6 separate regions of the Homo sapiens genome follow, and regions 2, 3, 4, 5 and 6 are each linked to region 1. The links are contacts of gene promoters, found by promoter capture Hi-C in blood cells and fetal thymus (Javierre and others, 2016). All regions are on one chromosome and are shown on one strand. The core of a region is centred on a gene start or on the middle of the fragment in contact, and the rest is flanking DNA. Distances in the headings are between cores, read along the strand shown.

The links. Contacts are between HindIII fragments. The CHiCAGO score rates a contact against its expected background, and 5 or more counts as called.
Region 2: a fragment that was not itself captured here is called in contact with the fragment with the promoter of FAT4 in region 1 in 1 of 17 cell types (M2 macrophages); the score reaches 8.8 in M2 macrophages.
Region 3: a fragment that was not itself captured here is called in contact with the fragment with the promoter of FAT4 in region 1 in 4 of 17 cell types (M1 macrophages, M0 macrophages, M2 macrophages and 1 more); the score reaches 9.2 in M1 macrophages.
Region 4: a fragment that was not itself captured here is called in contact with the fragment with the promoter of FAT4 in region 1 in 3 of 17 cell types (M0 macrophages, M2 macrophages and M1 macrophages); the score reaches 13.6 in M0 macrophages.
Region 5: a contact is called between a fragment that was not itself captured here and the fragment with the promoter of FAT4 in region 1, in 2 of 17 cell types (M2 macrophages and M0 macrophages). The highest score is 10.8, in M2 macrophages.
Region 6: a contact is called between a fragment that was not itself captured here and the fragment with the promoter of FAT4 in region 1, in 5 of 17 cell types (M2 macrophages, M0 macrophages, M1 macrophages and 2 more). The highest score is 17.3, in M2 macrophages.

Annotation. Positions count from the first base shown.
Region 1 is chr4:125,312,191-125,317,143 of GRCh38, reverse strand. FAT4 (FAT atypical cadherin 4) reads right to left here and starts at 2,189. Exons shown (of 18, transcript NM_001291303.3): 1 at 1,167-2,189; 2 at 1-744. The coding sequence starts at 732. The HindIII fragment of the contact is 5,556 bases long and covers 1-3,232 here.
Region 2 is chr4:127,725,738-127,730,690 of GRCh38, reverse strand. It overlaps INTU (inturned planar cell polarity protein), which reads right to left. Exons shown (of 16, transcript NM_015693.4): 16 at 3,954-4,953. It overlaps SLC25A31 (solute carrier family 25 member 31), which reads right to left and starts at 291. Exons shown (of 6, transcript NM_031291.4): 1 at 1-291. The coding sequence starts at 145. RefSeq lists a silencer at 414-571. The HindIII fragment of the contact is 1,274 bases long and covers 1,450-2,723 here.
Region 3 is chr4:127,496,495-127,501,447 of GRCh38, reverse strand. No RefSeq gene overlaps it. Among named protein-coding and RNA genes, the nearest start is that of INTU, 130 kb to the left of the region's middle. The HindIII fragment of the contact is 2,494 bases long and covers 1,758-4,251 here.
Region 4 is chr4:127,464,734-127,469,686 of GRCh38, reverse strand. The region is part of intron 1 of LOC102724210 (a long non-coding RNA gene); the gene reads left to right. Among named protein-coding and RNA genes, the nearest start is that of INTU, 170 kb to the left of the region's middle. The HindIII fragment of the contact is 6,029 bases long and covers 1-4,953 here.
Region 5 is chr4:127,412,894-127,417,846 of GRCh38, reverse strand. It overlaps LOC102724210 (a long non-coding RNA gene), which reads left to right. Exons shown (of 11, transcript XR_001741824.3): 2 at 2,685-2,771. Among named protein-coding and RNA genes, the nearest start is that of INTU, 220 kb to the left of the region's middle. The HindIII fragment of the contact is 1,270 bases long and covers 1,675-2,944 here.
Region 6 is chr4:127,393,116-127,398,068 of GRCh38, reverse strand. All of the region lies in intron 4 of LOC102724210 (a long non-coding RNA gene), which reads left to right. Among named protein-coding and RNA genes, the nearest start is that of INTU, 240 kb to the left of the region's middle. The HindIII fragment of the contact is 1,145 bases long and covers 1,323-2,467 here.

The sequences.
Region 1 (4,953 bases), core at 940-3,439:
ATTAATGTCTTGCACAGTCACGTTTACCTGAAGGTAGCCCCGCCGCTTAGGCTCACCCTTGTCCTCCACCTCAACCAGGAGCTGGTACTGCGGAGTGACCTCACGGTCCAGTCCGCCCTTGGACACCAGATGCAGGAACGCTCCCTCGCCGCTCGGGTTCAGGGTGATGTCCAGACGGAAGCGCCCCGCCTCATTGCCGCGGATGATGCGGTAGGAGCGGTGGTCCACACCGTTTGAGCCGATGTCCGAGTCGGTGGCGGTGTCTAAGATGACTTGGCGTCCGCTGCTACTGTCTTCCTTGAAAGTGACCACGATAGAGGGGTCCGGGAAAACGGGGGCGTTGTCATTGAGGTCCCGCACCAGCACTCGCACTTCGGTGGGGTAGGTGGGCGCGCTGGAAAGGACCACCAGGTTGATCACGTCGCTGGGCAGGCTCTCGCGGTCGATGGTGGAGGTGGTGTACAGGGCTCCGGTGCTACTGTTTATGGCAAACAGGGCGTGGCTTTCGCTGAGCCTGTAGGTGAAGCCGGGGCGCGTCTGGATGGTGCCTACCAGAGTGCCTGGAGGTTGCTCTTCCAGCACTTGGAACACCTGGCGCGGCTCGGCCCCGTGGACCCAGGCCTGCCCCGGAAGCAATGACAGTAGCCAAAACACTCGAAGGAGCTGAGATACTGATAGAGTGTGCAACGGGAGCCACGGGCGGCCAGTAGCCCTGTCTGGTGCTAAGTCCATGGTCCTGGCTCCCTAAAACGATGTGATAAAGAGAAGGAAGGGGTGAAGCAAACGCAATGATATTTACAGGGATTAAGGAGCGCCAGCAAAGATTCAGCTGACGGCTTGGTCTGAGACCTCTGCTATTTCAAAGAACCTCCAGTCCGGCAAAAGCAAGTAGCATCAGCAAAAGACTCTAGGTAGCCAGTTGAACGCGGAGTGCAAGAGAGATGCTGTGGCGAAAAGCGGCAGGGCATTCCGCGGGACACTCCTGTGAGCTGAGTTCCCAGAAAAGTTTCTCAAGCCTCTTATATATGCCCCCTTTTACTTTGTTTTTGAATCCAGATAGTCTGAGCGTTTTCACCCGGGTGGATGAGAGTTGGGAGAAGTTGCCTGTATCTAAGGTATATGAGGAATCATTGCAAAGAACGGTCTTCAGAAACTTTAGAACTTACCCGCAGCGAAGAACGTGAAGAGGGAGGAACAAACGTCCAAGCACAACTGCGCACCGGGGAAGGGGTGGTGGGGAACCGGGAGAATCGAATTTCTTTCCCAAAAGCTGGAGGCGATGGAATTCCTGGAGTCCCCACTCCTCAAAAACCAGGCTGCAACGCCCCTCCAACAGGGCGCCGGCAGTGGCCGCTGAGGCCCAGGCGGCGGCGTCTGCGCGCAGGCAGTTCGGGAACTGCGTTCCAAGCGCTAGCGTTCGCGCTCTGGCTCCCGTACCCGGGAGCGCTCAACTCTGCCCCTTCCCCTCCTGCAGCCGCCGCCGCCGCCGCCCCTGTTGCGGCTTCAAGCCCGTGGTCCGGCACAAACAACAGCCAGGGCTCCTCGGCATTTTTCACCTCTGCCGGGGCGCCTGCCGACCCATTATTTGTACATCCAAATCGAACGCAGTTTCCCCTTTCTTCTCGGCCTCGCAGGGGTCGGGCAGAAACAGCGTGCGGTCCCCGAGTCGCCCTCCCCTCACCATGCCAGGGGGGGTCGTTCTCCGGCGGCCCCAGTCAGAAGCCCACTCTAGCGCGCCTCGCCCCTGCCCTCGCTATCTCTGCTTTTATTGTCCCGTGTCAGTTTCACTTTGTAATCCACAAGGCTTTTTGTTTGGGGCGGGGGGTGGTTGATGCCTCTCTCTCCTTCACAGTTGGCAGCGGAGGCGGCGAAGTCGGCGCTGGGCTGTAGTGACGCCCTCCGCAGCTCCGGACGGCGCCTGTCAGCGCTCTCCCTCTCGCCGGCCGGGGCCGAAGGTTGGACTGCGGTGGAGCTAGGGCTCCGCGAGCCCTTCTCCACCTCCCGCCTGGTCCCTCACACTCTCCCCGCCCCTTCCCCGCCGCACAGGCATGCACACACACACACATACACACGCACACACACACACACAGCGCGTCGCCGAAACACAAACAGAGGGGGAGGGAAGACCGCGAGCTGGAGCAGCACTCAGAAACTTTGCTCGACACTCATTGATCCCCGCACTTTAGTTCGCCTGGACTCCCCCTAGCTCCCAGTCCTGTCACCTTCTGCCCCTCCCTCGCCCCAGCCCCATTGGGCCGGAGCTGAAGCAGCCCCGACCGGCACTCCTACCGCGAGCGCCCTCCGCCTTGCCCGGCCTCCGACTGGCTTCTCGGGATGCTAATCACTTCAGCCTCCCGGAGGGCTGTAGGCGGTCTGGTGTGGGAGCACAGCGAGGCGGAGGCGCTAAAAAGGGGGGTGATTTTTTTTCTTTTCTTTTTTTTTTTTTTTTTTCCTTTTCGGCCAAATCTTGGCCGGCGTCAGAGCAATAACAGCAAAAGGCTGCCGCAGAATAGATGGGGGTGGGGTCAGGTTTGCAGATAAATAACTTTAGTGGCAGGGTCTGGGGGAAGACCGTTAGGTTGTTATGCTAGTAATAACTCAGGGGTAAGGGGGTCGAGAGAAATAAAAGAAAGGCGGGGGGTGAGGGTCTGTTAAAGCGGGGAGGAAGGATTAAGCAAAGCCTGTCTGGGAATGCACAGTGCAGATTTGCTTTAACCATTTCCTGCCCCTTCTCTCTTTATGCAAGGGATAGAGCTGCCATACAGTGTGATCCCACAGAATCCAAATCAAATCCTCCCCTTTGCTCCTCTTTCTACACAGTGGGCTCCCTGCTGTCTAGGGCGAGCTAAACTCTAAATCTTCACTCACTTGCCCCTCTCCCCCACCTTCCAGGTGACTAGGGGGCAGGAGGCCTCCGTAGCAAGGGCACTTTGGACTTCCTACTATAGGAAAGGCCAGGGGAACTCAGTGTTTGTTTTGTTTTCTTTCCCAACTGGATTCCAGGTGCCAGTAGCCCAAACCTTAGGGTTTCAACAACAATAATAATGGCAGCCCTTTGAAAAGAGGGAGATCTTTTCCTGTTGCAAAGTTAGTTTGGAATTTTGATCCCTGATGGAGTATTTCCACCTCCACATTTTTTAGTCAAAGGAAACCTAATAAAGTTTTATTTTGCTTTTCAGTCTGGGAGAAATAGATACGAGAAAGTAGAAATAAATAAAATAATATTTAAGCTTAAGTTTTTAAAAATACCCACATGCCACTTAATGCACTCAGATCAACTCACCCACTATTCACTGCAGTTAATTTTTGTGGTGGCATGCATCGTTTCTTTAAAAGAAGAAAAACGTTACTAGGAATCAGATCGATATTTTTCCCCTTTAAGGGAACCAACCTAGAAAATAAGAATTCAAGCCAAACAATGCAAATACAGGGCATATGTCATACATTTCTGCCACAAGGATCCCTCACAAACGTAAAACTTTCTGCGCCCAGAGAGGGTTCAGTCATGAGTAAATACTGCCCTCTGCTGTTCTACGTCAGTCTTACATCTTTAGTCTCCTGGTTTCTTGCTTAAAATTAAATGCAGAGACTAAAAGGATCGGATTACAAGGCTAATTCCTGCTTCTTGCCTAGGGATAGCAGCAAAGAAAACGATCTCTAAGACTTTCCTAGTGCCTTTCTTATTTAGAGTAAAAAAAAAAAAATCAAGAATAGTAGGACAGACAGCAAATTCAAGTCTTGATGATGCAGGCAGCCTGTAACTCAAAACTGATTTATGGAAACATGATTTCTAAAGCTATCACCAATTCCTCTGTTTAGGTTAAAAAGCTAACTTCTACATATTCCTCTACTGTAATGTAATGAGTTAACTGGAAACAGACAAAAAAGTTAAATTTAACCATTTATGTATTTTAAAACTTGAAAACATTAGACTCTAGACTTTTTAGAGACATTTAAGCCTGTTTTTCAAAAATCGTATTTTTCTTAAGTTACAATCCTAACACCATTATTTTTGGTATAATTTAGCCAAAAAATATTTGTAGATTAACTAAAGTGGCAAACAAATTTTTACAAATTTTTACAAATCATGTCTGTGTGATTTTAAGAGAATATTACTGTTTTGTTTTATTTTGTTTCCTAATGCACTATTATTCAAGTATTTATAGAGAAATAAACAGAAAGAAATCATTCAGATACTTGTTGTAGGAGATCATGGACTTTTGTTGGTTTGCTTGTTTTTTTTTGCCTGTGGGATAATCTTCAGATTTAGTGTCAATAGTATTACATTTGCATTATATATGAGTGAATTTAATTTGGGAAACAGGTGAAGATCATTCATTCTGTGAAATGGAAAGTATTCAATCAGTGCAATATGTATACATTTTAGTTTTACAAAACAAGATATGGCAAAATAAACTAATACAGAAAATATATAGAGAGATAGAGTACATAAAAATTTTTTGGACAATTTCAAAAGAGGATTATCGAAAATTATTTAGCCAATAGTGTGGTTATTTTAACAAGTAGAAACTTTTCGCATGATGACTACTTTAAAGTAACATATTCATTTATAGATAAAACCTATACATGAATTTACAATCTATGTATAGATAGGTACACAATTTAAGGTAAGATATAGAGCATGGTTTTAATAAAAGACAAAGGTATTTTGTTGTTACTTTTCTCTTTTGCATTTCAACCTGTAATATCATGCATGTTAAAAAATGGATGCCCTCCCAAAAAGTAAATCATGCATGATAAATAATATGGATCCCTCTCCAAAAGTAAATGAAAGAAAGTAAAGACATATAGAGATCATTGTATGCATGAAATATGCAAAAAAGCCATGGAATACATTACTAGGTAGATATTATAATGGAACACATTAATAAACAGTTAGTGTAAGAATCATTTCTCATTGTACATTTTCTTTAATTAATTGCCTTTCAAAAA
Region 2 (4,953 bases), core at 837-3,336, 2.4 Mb before region 1:
GCAGCAGCAGCTTCACCCGCTCGATGGGCGCCACCGCTGTCTTGGACACAGCTGCCGCGACTCCGCCGGCCAGAAGGTCCTTCCCGAAGGATGAGGCGTCAAACAGCCGCTTTTCTGCCTTCTTTTTCGCAGGCTCACGATGCATGATGGAGAAGGATATAAAAACCGGCAGCAGTGGCTAAAAATGAGTACGGGAGCTACGATGAAGGGAAGCGGAAAACCGGAAAACCGCTGCAGCATCGTACTGGCGAGAAAGTGGCTCTTGGGACGCTGAGAGAGCCGCGCGCCGGCGAGGCGCGTGCGGAAAAGCTGCGCAGGCGCTCCAACGGCCTCCAGCCACGTGACGCCTGACACGTGACACCTGACACGTGACTCCTGACACGTGGCTCCTGGATGCGCGGTGACGCCTGCGCACTTCTACGAGCGGAGCCTGGGCTTTCTGATGAGGGAGGGGTCCGGAGGCGGTGAGCATTGAGCAGGAAAGGCGAGGGGAGGGGCCGAGGAGAGCCAGTTCTGTGTGAAGAAATTTAGTAGCTGAGACTAGGCCAGAGCAGTAAACCAGCGGTGTGAGATTAACAGAATTTAGTTTTAGTTCCTAGTGTTACCCCCTTCACTTTCTTAATCGCTTTAATCCGTTACGTTTTTTTTGACCAGAGATGGTTCCTTTGACCTTTCTTGGCATCTTAAAAAAGACAGTCTTACCTGTTGTGTGATTCAAGTGATGTTCCCCTTAAATTTCACCCTATGTGCCTGTTAATGCTTCAAATTCCCTTGGAAATTGCTTTAATCTGTTCCTTTAATTAAGCAGGGATCCTTTGTCTAGTCACTTTCTGTGTCGTTTTGATGATTGTGCCCCCATAGCATAATACATGTTCCTCTTTTTCATATTGTATTTAAATTGATAATATCCAGAGCAGTGGTTCTCAATCCAGACTGCACATTCAAGGGGATGAGGGGTGTTTTGTTTTGTTTTTCAAATTGATGCTTGGGATTAGGCCCTGCACATTAAATCAGAACGTCTAGAAGTGAGGCCTGGCATCAGTATTTAAATTCTCCAGGTAATTCTAGTGTTTGAAGTAATTCTAATTCTAGGGTTGAGGGCCAATGACCTATCTAGAAGAGTAGTTCACAAACTTTTCGATTGCAGGACCCCTCTTTTTCACTCTGAAAAATTATTGAAGGCCAGGTACCAGTAATCCCAAAACTTTGGGCCAAGTCCAGCCTGGGCAACATAGTGAGACCCCTCCTTTACAAAAAAAAAAATAGCTGGGCGTGGCTGCACAAGCCTGTAGTCCTAAGTATAGCTACTTAGGAGGCTAAGACAGGAGAAATGCTTGAGCCCTGGAGTTGTAGGCTGCAGTGAGTTATTATCTCACCACTGTGCTCCAGCCTGGGCAACAGAGCAGGACCCTGTCTCTTAAAAAAAATTATTGAAGACACAATGAAGCTTCCGTTTTTATTATGTATATTGGCATTTACCACTCAGAAATTAAAACACGATTTAAAAATATTTAATTCATTTAAAATAAAAATAATCCATTACAGGATAGCATAAGTACGACTTTTAAATAAAAAATGTAGTAGAAAAATAGTATTGTTTTATATTTTTGAATCTCTAATGTCTGATTTAATAAAAGACAGCTAGATTCACATTACTGCTTTTGCATTCAGTCTGTTGTGATATCATACATGTAGCCACTGGAAAACTCCACTGTTTATTCAGGACAGAATGAAAGTGAAAAAGGCAAATAATAGTATCATTTAAGAAAATACCTTTGACTTCATGGTGTTCCTGTCTCCGTGACACAGAGGGGTTTTCTAAACTGCACTTTGAGAACTCATTTAGAGGAGGTTGGCAGATTCAGGTTTGACTTCTTTCGGCAAAAATACTCAGTAGAGGTACGTCTAGCCTGTACATAACATTTGTCTTTTTCTTTCACCTCACTTTTTTCACTTAATATATCGTGGAGATCCTTCTATAGTAGCATTTAATATATCCCTTTTTACAGCTCGTTTGGTGTTTTGAAATAAATGGAGATCCCATCTTATCACCTCTTACTCTGTAGGACCTGCAGAGCCTTACAACACATCTATAAAATGTGAAATGAGTTTTTAGCTTTTTTTGAATGTTAGGTTCTAATTTTTCCTTTGTCTTATGTGTTATAACCCTTCTACTAGTACTTGTCACTAGTAAAAAACCATTTAGGTCAGAAGGATTCCAGACCAGGAATGTTGTCAATATTTTGATTACCTCACATAAAATCAGTTGGCAAGTCCTACTGATATCATATGTTTGGTGCTACTTCCTTTCCATGGTGGCTTATTCAACCTTTTTTTTTGAGACAGAGTCTCGCTCTGTTGCCCAGGCTGGAATGCAGTGGTGCAATATTGGCTCACTGAAACCCGGGTTTCAAGCAATTCTCCTGCCTCCGCCTCCCAAATGGCTGGGATTACAGGCATCCACCACAACACCCAGCTAAGTTTTGTATTTTTAGTGGAGACAGGGTTTCACCATGTTGGCCAGGCTGGTCTCAAACTCCTGACCTCAAGTGATCCACCCGCCTTGGCCTCCCAAAGTGCTGGGATTACAGGCATGAGCCACCACGCCCGACCGGCTTATTCAACTCTTAACTGGGTTTTCCAACTCGAATCTCTGTTTCTCTCTTTCACATGCAGCAGCCAGATTAATGTGTCTAAAGCATTAATTAATTAATTCTTAAGCTTAAACAAAATTGAAAGTCTTTCCATTGCATTGACTTCAAAATCCTTTGTCAAATTCATTGTAAATTCAATAAACAATTGGCTTTTTATTAGCAAACATCTGAAAAATGAAAGGTTTCGTTCTCCTTCAAGGGAATTTGAAGCATTAGCAGGCACATACGGAGAAATTTAAGGGGGAAATTACTTGAATCACTACAGGTAAGAGTGTCTTTTTAAGATCCAAGAAAGGTAAGGGAACCATCTCTGAGGACAGAAAGGAAGTGTTCTGCTGCTCCCCAGGGCAACTTTCTCTTTCTACCCTCCTCTAACATTTGATTTGATAGCTGACAATGTTTACATCATATTCCTTTATGATATCAAGCTTATTTCTGACATGTATTCATTGATAGAAGACAGACAAAAGTGAAAGTGTCAACTTAAAAATGTAGCTTTGTTAACCTTTTAAAAAACTTTTTGTTGAGACAGGGTCTCACTCTGCACCCAGACTGGAATGCAGTGGCAAGATCATGGCACACTGAAGCCTTGAACTCCTGGGCTCATGTAATTCTCCCACCTCAGCCTCCCAAGTAGCTAGGACTACAGGCAAAGACCACCATATCCAGCTAATTTTAAAAATTTTTTGTGGAGATGGGGTCTCCATATCAAGACAAGCCCAAGCTTGTCTTGAACTCATGGACTCAAGCAGTTCTTCCGCCTCAGCCTTTCAAAGTGCTGGGATTACAGTAGTGAGTCACCGCGCCCAGTAGCTTTTTAACCTTATTAAAAGCACTAAATCAACTCTTCAATAGGTCGGAGCTGAAACTGAGTAATTTACTGCATTGATTTTACTTACTGATTAGGGAAGGAAAAAAATTCTAGTGATTTATGTTAACATTAAAAGTAGAGTTTCTGGATCTTTGTTCTGTTCACTTTGCTCTCCGGAGAAATCAGCATGATTAGTTTCCTCACTTCAGGTCTGCAGTCAGCTCAGCATCCCTTTCCTTGGTCACCCTGTCTGCCACATCTTACATCCCCTTCTCTTGCTTTACGATTTTTTCTCTCAGCATTTACATATTTTACTTATTTATCTTGTCTGTGGTATGCCTCTCCCATTGGAACATAAACTCCATGAGGGCAGGAATTTTTAGCTGTTTTATTCATTGCTATAGCCTCTGCCTCCACATCAGCGCTTGGCACAGGGTAGAAATGCAATAAATACATGTTGGATGAATGCATGAAAAAGGCAATACAACTGCAAACAAACCTCCAAACCAGTTTTATTTAAAACTATCAATATAGTATAAAAGTAGCTTTAATTACATAGAATATAGAAACACAACTGCAAAATTAAATTATTTCATACAGTTTTGGTGCATAAAGTTTCAATAACATTTAACAATTTAAAAATATCCAAAGTATAAATTCTTGTTCTGAAAACTGTTTATTGATAAATGATTTTTCTCAGCTTTTCCCCTACATTTTGTACAGTAGCAGGTATGATTTAGCTGACTACTTGGTTTTTCAACCAATGGATATTTAATAATGATAATAATAAATGGTAGCAGTAGTAGCTAACACTTTTATAGCATGTAATATGTGCCAGGCACTGTTTAGAGAGAATTAACACATACAATTATGTCCAAAGCAGAAAAACCTAGTAAATTGGTTTCACAGCTTTGCCCATTTGTATTAGAAATATAAAAAAGCAGGTATTACAAAATGCTATCTTGCCATTATACAGCATCATCAATAGTCCCTTGGCACAAATAAGAAACATTCCCTTACTAGGTACACTTCTTTGGCAAGACACAAACAAGAGCTAAAGAAAGGGGAGAGGGAGAGAAAGTAAGAGTCTAAAATGTAATTTTGGGGGGGCTAAACATATGATAATGAGACAGTATTTGATATTTTAAAAAATGCTAGCTATATATAGTTTTTCACATTAATAGTTGTTGGTGGAAGGGAACATTTGCATACTAATAAAATCCAATTTAACAACGTTTCTATGTCTTCTAAAGCATATTTCTAGGATATCTGCACTGTCATCCTGTCCCCCTTTATTTAATAAAGTAACAGGCACTTTATTGTCTGATAATCAGTTTGATGTTTCAGATGTGATTCTGAACATATTTGGAAAAATAGGCAGCTAAGTTTGCCTTCAGAGCTTAGTTCAATATCCATTTAGAAATGAAAAAATAAGATGTGTGATTTTATTTCTTAAAAATGCAGTGCCTCTTTAACATGGAAATTACA
Region 3 (4,953 bases), core at 1,755-4,254, 2.2 Mb before region 1:
CTATCTGGCTCTCCTAGGATGCTTCCTCCAGAGGAAGTCAGACTATGTATGCTGATCAGCTGCCCTGGCACTGCTGTGCTGTGAGGAAGTCCAAATTAGTCCACATAGAGAGACCACATAGAGAAGCATAGAATCTGCATGGACAGAGAAACATTAGCTGTCATTAGCCCAGCTGATTCAGCTGTCCATTGTTCCAGCTCCACCTACTGTGGACTGCAAATGAGCAACTCTCAGTCAGAACCATAAGTGGACCCCTTTCTGAATTTCTGACCTACAGAAATAATGAAAGATAACAATGATAGTTGTTGTTTTAAGTGACTACCTTTTGGTGTGATTCATCATGTAGCAGTAGACTAATGGAGCAGATTTGATGCAGAAATGGAGTGCTAACATAACAAAACCTATGGGCTTGTCCACTGGGCAGTGGACAGAATCCTTTAGAAGAGACTTAGTGAAATCCCAAAGTACCTCGGGAGGGTGTCAGTGAGAGCTCGAAGGATCTTGAGGAGAGTGTTAGCAGAAGCCTAACGGATCTTGAAGGCTGTCTGTGAGGGCTTAATGCAAAGTGAAGAAAATGTAACAGGAAGTTAGAAAAAAGAGAACCCTTGTTATGTAGTGACAGAAAATTTAGCAAAATTCTTGCCTGTATGAATGTAGAACGTAGAACATGTGCCTAATGAACTCAGTGGTTCTCCAGCTTATGAGATTTCCAGGTGGAATGTTGAAGGATCAATCTGGCTTCTTACTGCCCATGACAAAATGAAAGGAGGGTGATGAACAAAAGAACAAATTATTCTGTTTTGAGTGGAATTTATAGAAAATGGAAAAGGTTCAGAGCGGTCATTTCAGACAACAAACTGTTTTCAAAAACGGGCTTTAGGACAAAGATTTAAGGGCTAGATAGGACTAAAATATTCTTTGTAAAACTCAGAAAGTTCTAAGTCCTTGTATAATACATGCAATACAGGAGAGGCCCTAAGCCAGAACCACCCAGATGAGCCTACTCTAAATTCTTGGCCCAAGGAAACTATAAAAGATAATAAAATGATTGTTGTTGTTTTAAACCACTTTAATTTGGAGTGGTTTTTAAATAGAAGTAGATGACTGGAACATATTCAAAAGACAAGAATACTGTGTAAAGTCATAACTACTCATTTCTAATTTTAAAAATGATTTTGCCCCCAGGGAGTAGGGCAAACATTTTTTTCAGGTATGTGAATATTAAATCAATGCAATATGTCTTATTTTAGTTCCAAAGAAAAAAATTTAAAAAATATGAAAAACTTCTGCTTAAAGGTTAAGCCACATTTTATTTAAATGCTGAATAATATATATGTTCCTTTCTTTATTAAACCATCATTAAAGCAGGATGGAAATATTTTTAGACTGGAGAATTAGCCTTTTTCATTGTAAGTGTTGCAATATATGACAACCCTTTTCAGAAAGGTGAGTGTTACAGAGGGCCAATAAAAATCATTTTAATTAAGCATTTAATTTTCACCCAGAAGTGAAAGTTCCCACAAGTAAAGTTTCTCACCATGTGAGCTTTTACAATGACATGTTGAGAAAAATGAACATAATTTTCCTTTACATAAAATAAAAATAAATGGGGCTGACACTTTGCCTTTAATCAATGATAGATACATATCAATTTATAGCAATTTAAATAAAGACCACCAGTGAAATTTACATGGTGTGCACAGTTTAAATACTTTGAAAAGGGATCATATTGTAGGACACTGTTATATTCAGAAGCTTCTATGGGCTTTTTCTCTACCATCTTTTCCTCTCTTTCTCCTTCACTTCTTTTTTCTCCTCTTCCTGTTTTCCTTTTCTTCATCTTTCTCCTCCTCCTCCGTTCTTCATTTGTGATTTTAAAAGATCGTTTTCTTTACGGTTGGTCAATATTATTTCCCTTTTCTTTGGCTTATCTCTTTATCATTTGTATTTATATATAGTGCTTACTCTAGTTGCTAGCTATATTCAGAAGAAAACTATTGTGTTAAAAATGGGTGACATGGGTAATTATTCCTGACTTTAGGGAGTTCACATTTTACTGTGGGAAATAGTCATGTATTGAGCTCATCATAGTATTCTCCCATACACAGAAGTCAAACGAATAATGTGCTTGAGACCACAGAAAAGGGAGTGATTAAAATTTTGGGGGTGATGATAGAGTTTAAACAGTGGTGTGCTGAAGCTGGCTTGTACTTGTTTGTGAGAGCTGGATTTGCATATCGTTTTTTTAAGATTAAATGATAGTTTATTTAAAAAGAATTAAAACAGAAACTCTAAATACCAGTGTGTACATCGTACCCATTTAAATGATTTACAAGAATGACTTTTTCTCAAAAAAAAAAAAAAGAAAAAAGAATGACTTTTTCATATATGTTAAGACCATACTACCTAGTTTATCAAAAGTTGTTCAAGGAGAAATCTACTCCAAATTGCATACAGTTTTGTCATTTTAAAGAGACGACATTCCAAACATGCAACAGTGCCACTGGTAATGAAATTTTGAAATGAGTGTTCATTCTATTATTTGACTATAAACAGGAGAGAAAGCAAGATAAGTTGGGAATTTGTTCTAAAGTAGAATGGATGTTGTCATCATCTACACCCCGCTTCAGTCCTTTGCTGCCATTTTTAGCAAGTACTCCTTGTCGGTTTTGAAGGGTCTCCAGCTGTCTTCCCTGGGCACCTCTTCTTTTGTAGAGGTTAACAGATGGTTCATTTCATTCTGCTACTAAGAAGTGCATGGTGCTACAGTGATACTTCATTGTGACCTGGCTTAAATTCTTCAGAATTTCTGATTTATGCCAAAGCCTTTTTCATTACTCATCCAAAGAAGTACAATAGCTTGCCAATTCAAGGGTCATAGGTACAACAGTACATGGTGAAACCAACAGTAATTCTTTCTTTCCAGAGTCCAGTGTTTCTTGGGCATCTCTGCAACCACACAGTGGTGGAAGGGATGCTCTCTGAAACCACTCTCTAGCAGATCTTTTTCAGTTAATATTACTTGGTCTCCCACATATTCATATTTAGCCAGTTCCCTGATCAGCCACAGATACCACTGGAGTCAGCAGTGATGGCAGGATGGATCACAAATGTAGCCATTTTCTTCTTTTATTTTTCTTCCCTTTATGTAATAGGCCCCTATGCTTGAATGGCAGGAGGAGGTGGTTCCTCATTCATGACCCAATGAGCCTCAGTGAGTGATAGACGTGCTTCAGTGGAGCTGTGCCGAGAGCTGTGCCCGAGTGCCCTTTATCATGGAAGAGACGGCTTTTGAACTCAGCTTTACAGGATAAGTAGATTGGTGCAAAAGTAATTGTGTTTTTTGCCATTACTTTTTTAAAAAATTAAAAATTAAAAAAAGGGCAAAAACTGCAATTACTCTTGCAACAAAATAATAGAAGGGTTTTTGCCAGGATGAAAGGGAGAGTGGACCGGGGAAAGGTGGTGATATTGTTTGGACAGTTGTTCCTTCCAAATCTCATGTAGAAATGTGATTCCCAAGGAACCTGGTGGGAGGCGACTGGATCATGGGGATTGATCCCACATGAATGGTTTGGTTGTTTAAGAGTCTAGGACCCCCCCACCCTTGCATTCTTGCTTGCTCCCACTCTCGCCATGTGACGTGCCTGCTCCCCCTTTGCCTTCTGCCATGATTGAAAACTTCCTGAGGCCTCACTAGAAACCTAGCAGATGCATGCTCCATGCTTCCTGTACAGCCTGCAGAACTATGAGCCAATTAAGCCTCCTTTCTTTATAAATTACCCAGCCTCAGGTATTCCTTTATAGCACTGCAAGAACAAACTAATACAGGCAGTCTAGGTAATAATAACGGTATCATTTACTGGGTGCCTACTGTGCTTTAGATACTGTGCTAAGGAAGCACTTCCATGCACTATTGAGAGGTGAAGCCAGCTGGACTTCCTGGGTCCAGTGGGGACTTGGAGAACTTTTCTGTCTAGCTAAAGGATTGTAAGTGCACCAATCAGCACTCTGTGTCTAGCTAAAGGATTGTAAATGCAGCAATCAGCACTCTGTAAAAATGCACCAATCAGCACTCTGTGTCTAGCTAAAGTGTATATCCACCAATCAGCACTCTGTAAAATGGACAAATCAGCACTCTGTAAAATGGACCAATCAGCAGGACATGGGTGGGGCCAAATAAGGGAATAAAAGTGACCACCCAAGCCAGCACGGTAACCTGCTCAGGTGCCTTTTGGTGATGTGGAAGCTTTGTTCTTTCACTCTTCACAATAAATCTTGCTGCTGCTCACTCTGTGAGACAACACTACCTTTATAAGCTGTAACACTCAACGCGAGAGTCTGCGGCTTCACTACTGAGGTCAGTGAAACCACGAACCCACTGGGAGGAACAAACAACTCCAGACATGCCACCTTTAAGAGCTGTAACACGCATTGCAAAGGTCTGTGGCTTCACTCCTGAAGTCAGCAAGACCGTGAACCCACCAGAAGGAAGAAACTCTAGACACATCTGAACATATGAAGGAACAAACTCCAGACACACCATTTTTAAGAGCTGTAACACTCACCGCGAAGGTCCGTGGCTTCATTCTTGATGTCAGTGAGACCAAGAACCCACTGGAAGGAATAAATTCCAGACACACTATCATACTTAAGCATGGAAACAGTCTTGTGAGGTAGGTATTTACCAACCTCATTTTTACCTAGAAAATGAAGACTCTGGGATTTGAAATAATGTCTATCAGACTCCAAAGGTTTACCACTGTACTTTACTGCCTCATAAGCAAATAAGTGGATGTGGGGAAATTTGGGAGGGTGGACCAAGTTTAACAACACATTATTTTCTTTATCTCCAATTTGACATAGCTTGCAGTTTTCTAAAGCCAGGTATAAATTTCTCTGGCTGGGGCAGTTATTCTTCAGGAAAACTCTTTAATGAGACATCTATCTTAT
Region 4 (4,953 bases), core at 1,415-3,914, 2.2 Mb before region 1:
ACTCTGTTGCCTTGTATGTATTCTGCTCCATCTGTGAATCAGTGCCTCATTCATAAATTGAATTGGGATTAGGAAGCAATAGGCAGAGTGGCTTGTAATTCTATATATTGAGAATATTTTTGAGAACTAATTAATATGAGCAGTCTTACTGGAAAAAATTTCCAGAACCATGACAAACCGTGTTCTGTAATCTTGCAGCCAAGTCATAAATAAATGTTCTTGGTAAAAAGAAGAGGGAGGGTGGTTTTGTTGGGGTTCACATATCATGACCATGAGAAATGTCCACAGCTGTAAGAACACGCTCTGCTAAGAATCTGTCTTTCCCCACCTATGTAGAGAAGGCAGCTCATTTTACTAGTGAAAAGTTTATTCTTACTATGTTTTCGAAACATTTCTGTTTATTTTTATACTATGTCTTCAATGTAAGATGCACTTTACTCTCTATGACTGGTGTCTCTGTCTATAGTCAGCATTTTAAAATCTTGAGGTGAGTTTTACTAACGTAGTTGTATTTTTGACCTTGACTTTAATCTAGATGAGGAAATGAGTCTAGAATGAATAAATGGCTAGTTTTAGTGGTAATTATTTAAGAAGAGTTCCAGTTAATTTCTATATTTTAGGTTTGATTTGATTATTTAAATAAGAATCTATAAGAATATTTTGAAATTACTTCTAAAGAATGAAGCAGGCACTAAAAAGGGAAACATATTCCTCCCCTTCCCCCATCTCAAAGTATACCCTTCCTATAACAAATCCAGCACAATTCAAATTTGTCAATTTGCCTGATATTGAAGGGAAATGATTTTGGGTTTGAAATCTTAGACAATGATATTTCCTGGGAATATGTGAAGAAGTAAGGATAAATAACTAGGAGGAAAGGTTTATTTTAGAAATATTATTTTAACCTCTGCCTATCTTTGCCTTTTTACTTTCCTGACAAAGGAGAAATGCTATTGTGAATTCTATTAGGTTCAGTTATAGTATGTAAAATCATTCTCAGACTGGGCCCTTACATAGCAAATTACATTCTGGAGGTCATCTTTGAGAGCCATATTCCAGACGTAGCTAAGGGAAATACAATTATTTTATGGCAATTAAGAATTTAGAGCCATGGTACCCAGGCTGAGAGCACTGAATAAAAAGAACTTGGAAGAGAATTAATTTAGCTTAGGCTGAGAAGACTCTTAGTATAAATAGCATCTGGCTATGCTCAATTTAAGTTTTATATATTAGGGGAAAAGCACATGTATTTTGCCTGAATTCAGTACTACACATGATTGCTTAAAGAGTAGATATACTGCCATATCTATGAAATGAAATAGAAGTCAGCTTGGTCTGTGGGCTCTCCCATGCAAAGATAGGACCTTTATAATGGTAGCTAGGTTATGAGAAGAAATTGGAAAAAAAGGAGAGGCTGCTTTATATGTATATAATATCACAGGTTGAAGTGGAAAAAATAATTATGCAATATATTGTAAATGTAAAGAACCATGTGTTAAAAAAAAAAAACCCTAAGAATTATAATAATGTGAGAAGGAAAGTTAAGATTAATGGTAACTTTCATCTTTAGAAAAACACATTTTTCTTCTATATCATTTGATATCTGTACATGCATTTAAAAAGAGGTGTTTGGAGGCCAGGTGCTGTGGGTCACACCTGTAATCCTAGCACTTTGGGAGGCTGAGGTGGGCGGATTGCCTGAGCTCAGGAGTTCGAGACCAGCCTGGGTAACTTGGTGAAACCCCATATCTACTAAAATACAAAAATTAGCCCACCATGGTGGTGTGTGCCTGTAATCCCAGCTACTCAGGAGGCTGAGACAGGAGGATCACTTGAACTCAGAGGCAGAGGTTGCAGCGAGCCAAGACCTCGCCACTGTACTCCAGCCTGGGTGACAGAGCGAGACTCCATCTCCAAAAAAAAAAAACAAAAGAAGAGGTATTTGGATCTAGGTTACACAATCCACTGTTTTTCCTCCAGAACAGTGTACAGCATCTTTGGAGATTTCCTGTCAGCTCCTAAGTGAAGAGAATTGTTCTTAAAAACTTTGTGGCCTGTGAGTGCGGTGGCTTATGCCTGTAATCCCATCATTTTGGGAGGCTGAGGCTGGCGGATCACCTGAAGTCGGGAGTTTGAGACCAGCCTGACCAACACGGAGAAACTCCGTCTCTATTAAAAATACAAAATTTGCTGGGTGTGGAGTGGTGCATGCCTGTAATCCCAGCTACCCGGGAGGTGGAGGGAGGAGAATCGCTTGAACCTGGGAGGCAGAGGTTGTGGTGAGTCGAGATTGCGCCATTGCACTGCAGCCTGGGCAGCAAGAGTGAAACTCCGTTTCAAAAAAAAAAACAAAAAAAACCTTGTGGCCTGGAGCTAGGCTTTAACTAGTATAATTTTTCCACATTATCCTTGCAAGTTTAATGCAAATTGAGAAGAAAAGGAAATAATAATGAGGCTTATTAAGTATTGTATAAATTTTGCCAGAGGAAAGATAATGCAAATTATTATTATTATTATTATTAAATTATTTTGAGTCTCGTTTTCTCCCTTTCTCTCTCTCTGTGGTGGACATTTACCCCGTGTGTGGACTGAAAGTCTTTGTTTTACAGACCAAGGGGTACTCAATATACAGCCATTTCTCTTTTATTATTCATTGGTATGACTGAAAAAATCACGTTTGAAAGGAGTCATATTTATGGAATATTGTGTTTGAAGAGCATATGGCTATTAGAGATTAATAAATTAGCCATGAAAATAGGAAATGTCCTGAAGCCCTTGAAACATATTTGGTATTCAGCATTTGCATTAGCCAGTATCTCCCTTTCCAATTTTTAATAGGAGAAATACTACCCTCCTTTCCCCCTTATCTATCATATGTGTCTGTTATATTTAACCAAGTATCTGGGATATATACTCTCAGAACTTAAAAAAGAAGTGTTTTCATAAAAATTCCAGTAAAGGGAAGGGAAAAGGGAGGCTTCCTTTTGTCTTACAGGTTTTATTGTCTTTTTTCCCCTTTATAATCTTGGCACATACTATTACATGAAGGTTATGACAATGTTCAAAAAAGTCTTGTGCTATTTGATATAAATATCACAAGTTACAAATAAGTTTCCTTTGCTAAACGATAAATATGGCAAATGGTAAATAACTATCAGAATGCTTTTTTGACTCCCCTCTGTCTTGTCTTAAAAATGTTGCTTTCTTTTTCTTCCCTTGTTCTTCATCTGTCCTCATGCTTTACTTGATTGAAGTCAGTCATATAGTTTCAAAGAATATCTGAACACTAGTGACTCCAAGATTTACAGTTGTAGTCCAGGGCCACCTCCTGAATTTCTGATACATGTGAGCAGAGATCTTCTTTCAGTTGTCCCGTAGACATGGCATGCATTAATTTATTCATTCACTCAATGGATTTTTATTGAGGACCTAATATGTACCAGGTACTTAACATGTCCAGAACTTGCCATTCTACTCAATTTCTATTTTATCTCCATAAACACTTATCTCCAGATAACAAAAACAGAAACCCGGGACCAGTTTTCTCCTCATTTCCTTGATGTTAATGATGATAAAAATATTGGTCTGACACTGTGATAGGCATTTAACATATTAGTATATTGCATTAACTCATCTGTTCCATGGTGAACAGATCTGTTCTATGCAAACCTACCAGCAAAAGGCCAAAGAAGCTAAGCCAAAGAAAGAGACTGACAAATCCAGGTTCTCAGAAAGAAATAATTAATAGGGACTTACAAACAGAAGCTGTGTCTTGGGCAGTTGGGAGAGGAGATGGTGGATCCCTTCCCCATTTATTTCCCAAACCCAGGGCTTATATAGCATAGGGAATTTGCCTAAGTGCAGGCTTTATGGCAAGTATGTGATTTATAATGCTAAATTAAGTTTAACGTAAAACAGTCTTCTTATGTATATTAAGTTGAACCTCAAGTTCTCTTCCTACACGGTGAACTGTAGCCTAACTGGATGTGTTAACAGGCTATAACCTATTCCTGTGCCAATCACTGAGTTTTGGTCCATCAAAGGCGACCAGCTGTTCAAATAAGGCAAATGCTGAACTGTAACCAATCTGGCTGTTTCTGTACTTCACTTCTGTTTTCTGTATGTCACTTTCCATTTTCTGTCCATATATCTTTGACCAGGCAGCTACACCAGAGCTTCTCTGAAACTATTCTAGTTCAGGAGGTGCCTGATTTGCAAATCGTGCTTTGCTTAATTAAACTGTTAAGTTTAATTAGTCTAAAGTTTTTCTTTTAACAACAATAATATGATTGTTTTGAACTAAGGGCAAAATTTATGGTAAATACATGAAAGTAGAAACCTTAGAAGCAATCACCATACTGGGGTTAATCAGAAGTCAATATGACAGATTAACATCTAAGATGGAGTTGCTTTAGAGTCTGTAATATCAAATCCTTATAACAACTCTATGAATTAGAAACTATTACTATTTTTATTTTACAGTCAGGGAAACTTTCCAGTTGAGAGTTATGTATATTATTTAAGGTCATGCAGTTGGTAGGTGGGAAAGCCATGTCTGAACCAAGGTCATACATAGTAACAGGACCAAGTGATCCTCCTTTGTGAAGATCACTGATAAGTCCCCCTCTTCTCCATCCCCTCTACGCTGGGTGTATAGTTCAGCCCATCAACACTTGGCCTGGACTCTTTTAACCATTTTATCTTATATTGTATTGCTTCAGTGACTCCTCAGTACCACTACCAGATAAATCTTTCTAAGATGTGATCATGTTTATTGTCGCCTTTCAATGGCTTCTAATTATGTGATATGGTAAACACTTATCATTGTGGTCCTCCATGAGCTGCATCTTCCCTCTCTCATATCATCTCATGCTTTACCTTCTTTGTATTCTATGGTGTAGTCACACGGAACTACTTGAGGATCTTGAAAGTAGCATGTTATGTCGTACCTCT
Region 5 (4,953 bases), core at 1,060-3,559, 2.1 Mb before region 1:
GTGCATTGAGAGCTTTCTCATACTCATACATTCCTTGTGAGTTAGGTACGTTTTGCAACTGATGAGCTCCTGTTTTCCAAGCCTTGAGACTACATTATGCCATGATAATTATTTCTGTATTTGGGAATAAATGCTGTCATTGTTTTACCTCCATTGAAACACTTTGTCTCTTCAGGTTTAGTCTCTAGTTAGTTCAGATTAGTTATACTGACCCGTGAAATCCATAATAATAGGTTGGCATTTTAGTCAATATTTTGGAATGAAACTTTTACTTATAATCCCCTTATCTTCCTCTTGAAAATGAGAGAGTTGTTTGTAAACTGTGAGGACACCTCAAGGTTGTGGAACTGTTGAAGTTTTCATTTGAACCAATAGCAGAGCCAGACTTCATTAGATGTGATTCTGTAATTGTCATGACATTCCCTGTTCATAACATAAACAAACAAAAAAAGAAAATAAGGAGTGGAAGAAATTTCAGTATAGGACTTGAGAGACTCTCACAGGTCTTTTTTGGGGTAAGAGCATATATATATACGTATATATATGTATATATATATACGTATATATATATGTATATATATATACGTATATATATGTATATATATATACGTATATATATATGTATATATATATACGTATATATATACATATATATGTACATATATATGTGTATATATATATATACACACACACACATATTTGTATTTGTATTTGTATTTTAATTAGTATTTTAGGAAACATTCATATTTATATATAAAATACATTTTATATAAATATGTTATTTGAAGTATTTGTGTTACATATATTTATGTTAATATATTTTATATAAAATATCTACTTTCCCAAAACATGTATATATTATATAATTTTTTATACTTATACATAAATTTATAAATATAAATAATATATAAAATTCAAAATATAAATAATATGTAGCTATATACATAAATATACATTTAAAAATATTTGAGGTTATATATTTATATATAACAATATATAATATATAACAATATATAAATATATAATATAGAAATATTTTATATGTGTATGTTATATACACTTATATTTTGGAGGCTTTTATATGATAGCCTAGCAATTTCTTTAAAAGAAAAACCCAAAGCAAATACATTCTTGGCTGATAGGGTGTTTTGTGTAAATGTGCCTGGAAACTTGAGTAGGTAATAATGCTTTATTAATTTTTTTAGAAGTATTTAAACCAATTTTTGAGAATGTGAGTGTGCTAGTGAACAAATTTCATCTCAGTAAGAGATCATGCCCCCTTGCTCTGCTGGGCCCAGTCTAGTTACATACGTATTTTCTACAAACAGGGCACTAGGGGTGGGTGCCTGGCAATGGGCTTAATTGTTTGATGACAGAAGGCATTAAAAAACGGAGGGAAGTCCCTTGGCACTGCAGAGGGGAGGAGAGAAGAGAGAATAAGAAGTCTGTGATCCAGACTGTTTATTAACCTTGCCTTTCTGTGGAAAAGATCATTCACCCTGTCACTGGGCATGGAACTGGCAGCTGGGGTGTTGTCTCTGGCCCCTGAAACCAGATGAGCAAGGCTGTTGAAGGATGAGTTCGGCTGCGCTCCAGCTACCTCATGCTCTGAATAAAAGTCACAAAGAAACTCAGATGCAGCATATGCAAGACTGCGCTGAGGGGCTAGAAGCTTTTAGCTGCTAATTTGTTCTGTTTCCAAAGGACTAGCTGTTAAGAAGCAGCAAGGGCCATGGTGATGGAAAATATTACTATGTAAAGGTTGCCAATGAGACTGCTTGAAAAGGTGTTGGTAGGAATTTTCTTTTGGAGGTGAAGATGCTCCTCCACTTATAATGGGGTTATGTCTGAATACACCCTTCCTAGGTTGAAAATATAGCAAGACAAAAATTCATTTAATATACCTAACCCAGTGAACTTCATAACTTGGCCTAGCCTACCTTAAATGTGCTCAGAACACTAAGCCTACAGTTGGGCAAAGTCATCTGGCAGCACAGAACCCCATAGAGGTTGTTTACCCTTGTGATGGCATGGCTGACTGGGAGCTGTGACTTGCTGCCACTGCCCAGCAGTGCGAGAGAGTATGGCACCACTTTCTACTGAAGGCATATGGCTTTTACTCCATAGTAAAGTAGAAACATTGTAAGTTGGGGCCCATCTGTATAGTCAGTGACAGGCTAGTATTAAAACTCATGGATATCAAGGATTTGCTTTCTCCTGATAGCTCTGTGGCTATGGGCTTCTTGGACTATAGCTCCATCCCTTGGGTACCAATAAAGCTGAAAGTTCTGTAGTACAGTTGCAGTGCCTGGTGTGTGGGGACAGAGATGACAGTCTAGGGTACCTGACTAGATATTCCTCTGTGGTTCCAGAGTAGAGTTGGGTGAATAATTGCTGAGATATGTCCAGGCATTGTTCCATCTCCTTGTATTTGAACCATGGCCTCTGGACAGAGGACAAAGAATTATGTCAGAATTTACTTAGTGGTAGTGAAACAGCCCAATTTAGTTGTCTTCTAAAACTTTGTTTCAGCTGACATGGACCTCTAGGGTAAAAAAAAAAAAAAAAGGAAATGGTTTAGAACATGAAAGTGATAGAAGGAAACACCTTATTTATCTTTCCCACTCCTTCCTAAGACGTAAACTATTTGGAAGTTAAATGTCTGTGTGCATTATGTTTTGCAGGGCTTGGATCTTCCTCTGATAGTTCTACTTCATTCTGTCAAAGATCCAATTCCCGAAAGAGTTTTTTTCATCATCTTCAAACATCCAGTGAGTGTTTCTCTATGATGTTGCTTTCCTGATGCCTCTACCAGGCTGTCTGAGACATCTGGTAGTTCACAGTTCTTTTAAAATTTTGGGGATGATTTAATATTTAAAGAGTAACTTTTTGTTGGAACTTCACATCAGTTTTTCCAATTCAAGTTATCAGTATTAACTAAGCTTATGGTGTGCCCTGCATGAGATTTGGACCTCAAAGAACATAGGAGATCACATAGACTTCATACATCTTAAACAATTAGAGAACATTACCAGAAAATATAAATTTAAGAGTTCATTTATGTGGAGCAAGCTCTTAAGTGCAGGATAGATTAGGATAACTGAGAGTGAACCCTGGCTCTGCCACCCTGCATAAATCATAGTCTCTCTAATCCTCATGTGTCTAATAGGGATACTATTAACTGTCTCTAGGATTGCTGAAAGGATTAAATAACACCCAAAATGTGCCAAGTGCATCATAGGCACTCAGTGCATGTCAGTTAATGCAATGTAGTATGGGGAAGACATAAAAAGAGGGAGGAAAATGTGAATGAGATGATGAAGGATGGGGAAGACATGATTAGCAGAGAGGAGTGATGAGGACATTTGCAAGGAGATTGGAGGGAGAAAGTGAGTTAAGATAGGGAGCTGGGAATGACTTAGGTGTGGCCGTGGGCCCAATTGGGGTGGAGGGTGACATGGTAAAGCAATAAGATAAAAAAGAGGACTTGCATGACCAGCTAAGAAGTCTGATGAGATCCAATAAGCAGTTGAATATTATATGAACACAAGTGACATTTTGGAAAGATTTTTACAGTATGTAAAACTAATGCAGCAGCCCTATGAGGAAAGTATTGTTATTATCCTCATTTTCCAGGTGAAAAATAGCATTTGGAAGAGGTTTCAAAGAAACTTCACATAGGTATTTACTATGTGAATATAGTAATAACATTAATGACAATCAAAATGAAAGAAAACATTAATTCATAATTTAGCCATTCAAATAGACTGTTTTCATTTTCCCATATTCTCAGTTGGTTTTGCTTTTTTTATTCCAAGGGAAGGAAAAATTGTTATGAATATTATTTGAGTTAATTTCTGTCAGTGCTTTAAACAGTGCCTGGCACAGAGTAAGCACTCACTACCTGTTACTTATTATTTTTGCTTTAATACAAACTAAGATGTCATAGAGTAGAAGAGATAGTCTGTGATGACACAGAGCCTAAGTAAGGGCACCGGGGCAGGCAAGTTTTGTGGCCTTCCTAGTTTTCCTCACGTCATAACATTCCATGTGCAAACTAAACACAAAGAGAATTCCCAGTCTTTTCCAGAATGGAATGGGGTATGGCTGATACGCAAAGTTATTTGCTAGCTAAATTCTTTGGTGGCCTGTCAGAGGTTTGCTGTCACTAACCTGAAAATGGTGGGAAAGAAAGAACAAATAATAAGTTTATTACAAAAATTTATGTTCTATTCAATGGATAATCTGTAGCTTGGATTTGTTGTTGGCTTAAAATATAGGTATAATTCTTATACTGTTCTTAGAAAAGAGATGAATTTTTTAAAAACTTGTTACATTCTTGACAGTTTTATAGGGTAAATACTTGAGATTTTAGTGTGTTCTAAGAGTGAGCAAGGCAGTTTATGTCAAAAGTCCTCATTTTAAACCTTTTCTGGTAGGCTATGGGGGAGTTAGCAAATGAGTATGTTATATCAGTTACTTAGTTTGCAGTAATTTATCTCTGGACTAGTAAAACTGTGAACTCTTCTCTAACTGCTAACCCTGAGTTAGTTTTCTAAAGACTTTCTTTTCATGTTTCTAAAACCTTAGCTGTTGATACCACTTGGATAGACTCATTATTTTTCAAGTGCTGAGGTCTAAGTTGTTGAATAAGCAAGACTAACCTTTGACATGAAAGAAAATTTAGAGGAAAGAAGGATTTCATTAGCTTTTCATTTTCAAGGCCATGTCTTATAATATGAATTTATCAAGAACATGAGTCATATTTTTCACACCTCTGTGTACTTTGGGATATAAACATTTAGGGAGATCCAAAGGTACAAAGACTGCTCTGTGCTGGGGAATATAATAAAAAATTAAGAAACTGGAATTGAAAATAAAACTCCTTTGTGCATTCTTTATATGACTGAATAAGCTTTGTGGGCTTTTGGGTCTTCTCAAATCTCCTTGAAG
Region 6 (4,953 bases), core at 646-3,145, 2.1 Mb before region 1:
CAATAACAAAATCACGTTTCCTGCTATTTCAAGAAATCTGAAATGGTGATGAAAGACATTTCCTACCAATGATGTCAGTGGTTATTTAATTGCCATTAAGATGGTAATGAAACTCTTTCTTGTCACTTACACCTGATGAAGTGTTCTTGATCAGATTGTGTGAAAAAATGACTGCCATTATATTATTGCTCTTTCTAAAAACTAGATTTTCATTGCTTTAATAATGTTAGCAAAGCAAGCTGAATTATGTTTGGCATTAGTTCTTGAATTATTGCCTCTAAATAGTATTATAAAAATTAAACTACCTTAGTTTTCCGTACTAAGGATAACTTACCTTTTTTTTTGCAATATTGAGAAAAACCTCATTTTTCCATTACTTGAGATAAAAATAAATCACCCATTCTAGATCTCAAATTGCCTCTGTCTTATTAATTTTAACTACCACTATCATTTTTTTTTCCTGAAGTCTAGAGCTATGCTTAAGTCACATCCATGGGACATAAAGCAAATTAAAAATTTCTGGATATTTTTTCTTGGCTTGAGATATTAAGGAATACGTAATAGTCCTCTCTTCTCTCACATTAATCTTGATATTTTCTGTTACCTGATTAACTGCTTTCTTTACTTGGCCACCTTCTAGGAAAGGCTGGAAAAGAAAGAAAATAAACAAAGACTATAAAACAGGAAGAGAGCTTATAGCATCAGTTCAGAAGTAGAGAAGCAACATTATCACTGGCATAAGAAAATTTCCCTATATCTCAAACCCTAAACAAGGCTATCGATCTTTAACTGAAAGTTGATGATAGTATGGTTAGTTGGAAAAAATATCAATGATGGATTCTATTTCTTAAACATTATTTTATTTCCAATTTTTGGGGTACATAGTAGGTATATATATTTATGAGGTACATTAGATGTTTTGATATGGGCATGCAATGTGAAATAATCACATCATGGAGAATGGGATATTCATTGCCTCAAGAATTTATCATTTGTCTTACAGACAATCCAATTGCACTCTTTAAGTTATTTTAAAATATACAATTAAGTTATTATTGACTATAGTCACCCTGTTGTACTATCAAATAGTAGGTCTTATTCTAACTATTTTTTTTGTGCCCGTTAACCATCCCCCAATGACAGAGTCAATTTTCTTTACCCTTGCAACTGAATTTGACAATGTGACTTACTTTGGTTAATTGGACACTGGCAGATGCTAGTGTGATGAACACTTACATGTCGGAGCTTACCCTATCTTGCTATTCTTTGGAACCCTGAGACTTCTGTGTAAAGAAACTCTGAAAGTCCCACTAGAGCAAGCTTGTCCAACCCACGGCCTGTAGGCCACATGCAGCCCAGGACAGCTTTGAATGCAGCCCAACACAAATTTGTAAACTTTCTGAATACATTATGAGATTCTTTTGCGGTTTTAAAAAACTCACCAGCTATCGTTAGTGTATTTTATGTGTGTGGCCCAATACAATTCTTCTTCCAGTGTGGCTCTGGGAAGCCCAAAGATTGGACACTGCTGTACTAGAGGATGAGAGAACACATGGAACACATATGACCTGTCCTCGCTCAGGTCTCTCTAAACCAACATGCCTGCCAACCCTCAGACATGTGAGTGGGACCATACTAGATTATTCAGTCCCAGCCAAGTTGGTGAGGACCAGAAGATCTGCTCAGTCAATTCACAGACTTATAGGAGATAAACATGATTGTTATTTTAAGTCATTAAGTTTTGGGACTATTTGGTATACAAGTAAAAGCTAATTGAAACAAATATAAAACTGGAACATTTGTTTTGGATGAAAAACACTGTCTCACCAAATTTCTGTTTTAAGTGCTTTTATTTCTATTATTGAAAAGGTACTTCAGCGGAAAAGTTGGTTTTAGTTTCATGAAGTCAGTGTAGCATGGGTAGCCTGGTCTGTAAAGATTCAATGACTTGAGTCATTTTAGTTGAAAACTATACTTTTCTCTTGAATTCCTGGGTGCCTCCATAAACTTTGTAAGATCTGGTTGCAATAATCTGTCAAGATACCATCACTTTTTAAATTATTAGGCTTTTCATTTCAATTTTGCTTATATGTTTTTAAACCATTACTTTTTATGTGAACATTTGGGAACCAAACGCATTAGCTATTGCGAATTTAATGTGACACATCATAGATGTAAGTAACATTAGCGGTAACACATTTTTTTACATTCCCATTGGAACTGGCAGCAAATTCTCAAAACTATCTGAGAAAGACTTTGCTGTATTTACTGTCAATAAGAATTATATCACAGATGCATGTATAGAACACATCTTCGTTCTGTCTATTGAAGAATATCTGGACGACAAAAATCCATTTATATTTGAATATATGCTCTCTCTCTCTTTTTTTTTTTTTTTTTGAGACAAAGTTTTCCTCCTGTTGCCCAGGCTGGAATGCAATGGTGCGATCTCGGCTCACTGCAAGCTTCGCCTCCCAGGTTCAAGTGATTCTCCTGCCTCAGCCTCCCAAGTTGCTGGGATTACAGGCACCGGCCACCACGCCCAACTTATTTTTTGTATTTTTAGTAGAGATGGGGTTTCGCCATGTTGGCCAGGCTGGTCTTGAACTCCTGACCTTAGATGATCCACCCGTCTCGGCCTTCCAAAGTGCTGGGATTACAGATGTGAGCCACTGCACCTGGTCTGCTCTCTATTTTTTTTTTTTTTTTTTGTTGAGACGGAGTCTTGCTCTGTCACCCAGGCTAGAGTGTAGTGGCATGATCTCGGCTCACTGCAAGCTCTGCCTCCTGGGTTCATGCCATTCTCCTGCCTCAGCCTCCCGAGTAGCTGGGATTACAGGTGCATGCCACCACGCCCAGCTAATTTTTTGTATTTTTAGTAGAGATGGGGTTTCACCATGTTAGCCAGGATGGTCTCGATTTCCTGACCTCGTGATCTGCCCACCTCAGCCTCCCAAAGTGCTGGGATTACAGGCGTGAGCCACGGCGCCCGGCCTGCTCTCTATTTTTAAAAAATTGATTGATATAGGTTGTTGACTGAGTGTGAAACTGTTGGTGAATTCAAGAAATTGCAGGGCTTAGAAATTGTGAGCATTCATCTTATTCTAGGGTTGTCTTGCCTTTTGTTATAATTTTGTCTTGACATTTTGATTGATACATGTACTGAATTCCTTTTGGATAGGTTGATTTGAAAGCTCAAATCCCAGGGATGGACAGAATAGTTTTTCATTTTATTTTTTGTCCAAGATGTTCAGAGTTGCAATCTATTCTTTTAAATACATGTTTTACCAGATGATCCAGCTCTTTGGAACCAGCTGGCTCTATATTACTCTGTTAGAAAATAAGTTTTAAAAACTGCAATCTAAAATCTGGAAGAGTTACCCATCTGGATTAGTGACAACTTTGCGTTTTCAAAGAGGAAATATAATTCATGCTACAAGTTATTATTTTGGAGAAAATTATATGTAATGAGTGAAATTTCATGTCTAATACCTTGCTCCAAGTTTTATTGATAGCAATTTAAAATTAAATCGTTTAGCTTTATGTCAAGGCAGCTATCAAGCTAGCTGTATATCAAACTGAGAGGACCAGACAGCCCTACTTATGAGTATCAATGAACTCAAGTATAGCAACTTTCTCAGTATGAAAGGAAACAAGTCTACTTAGATCTGATTTCAAGTAAAGAATTTATTTTTCTACTTTAACATGTTCCTGTCAATTTTGTTTGAGATGGTATTTGCTATGCAGTAGGTTTAAACTAATCCTGTTGCTTTTTTTTCCTAAAAGAAAAAAATATTTGTTTACTTCTGGTGGAGAGGTTAGATTGTATGTGGTCATTCTTTTAATAAGAATGGATAAGAACAAATATCTGACCTATGAGTACAGCATACAGTTCCTCTAGCACTGACATATCAAGTCTCAGAGTATTATGCTTTAAAAAAATGGTAGAATTTAGAGTTAGGTAATTTGGGCCTAATCTGCTGATTTGTTGGGTAGTCTTCAGTAACTCACTTAACCTCAGTTATAAAATGCTTTGAAATCCTTAGATGAAAGTTCCTGTGTTTGAGACAGAGTATCAGACTTGATTCTTATTTTATACAATCCTCAGGGGAAATTTTGAGAGCATTACATAGAACTAGAATTTGGCACAATAAAATTATAATGGATTTGGGGATTAAGTGAGCATGTTCAGTTTTTATGATTATTAACCATTGCAACAGCTCTGAATGATGGCAAAACATTCGTTTTTGTAGAGACTAGGTGCTGCAGAGAGAAATGAATGAGGCTCCTCAGTGGCCTGGCAATTAAAGCCAAAAAGAATCTTTGATTGTTCAAAATGGCTTAAAACAATGATGAGCATGTGGTGATTTTTCAGCTTTTATCCCCAATGAAAGATTAAAAGATACTTAAATAAAATGCAATTATCATTTAAAATATCTCCCTTCAGGGACATCCTGCTTTACACGTATCTGATTCTGGGAGAAGGACTGGGGAAGGCCCTGAGGTGGCACTGGGCTTCACAGTGTCAGACATGTCAGGCCTGGATGCCTAGAATCAGACACTGAAGTGCTATCTCTAACCCTTTCTTTACTGGTCTGAGGATTGCATGTAGCCCTTTGGAAATAGGGTCACTTTTAAGAGGTGTAAAATCTGCTTTTGCCTATTGGAAATCAGAGATCTCTTAGATTCCCAAACCAAGGTATGATTATAGAAGGGGTAATATTAGGTTGTCATTAGAATGAATATTCAGACAGGACTGTGATCAGAATGTGTCAACGACAATCCTGTGGTCCAGGTCTGATACTGCCCTACTCATGGAATTAACCTAGTGATTGTTCTGGAAGCCTGGATATAGTTTCATTCCAATCACATGGAAAAAGCTTAGTGAAGGAAACTGAAAACATTTTCAGATTCTTTGAGTCCTACTACAAAACCTGACTCTGCACCTACCCT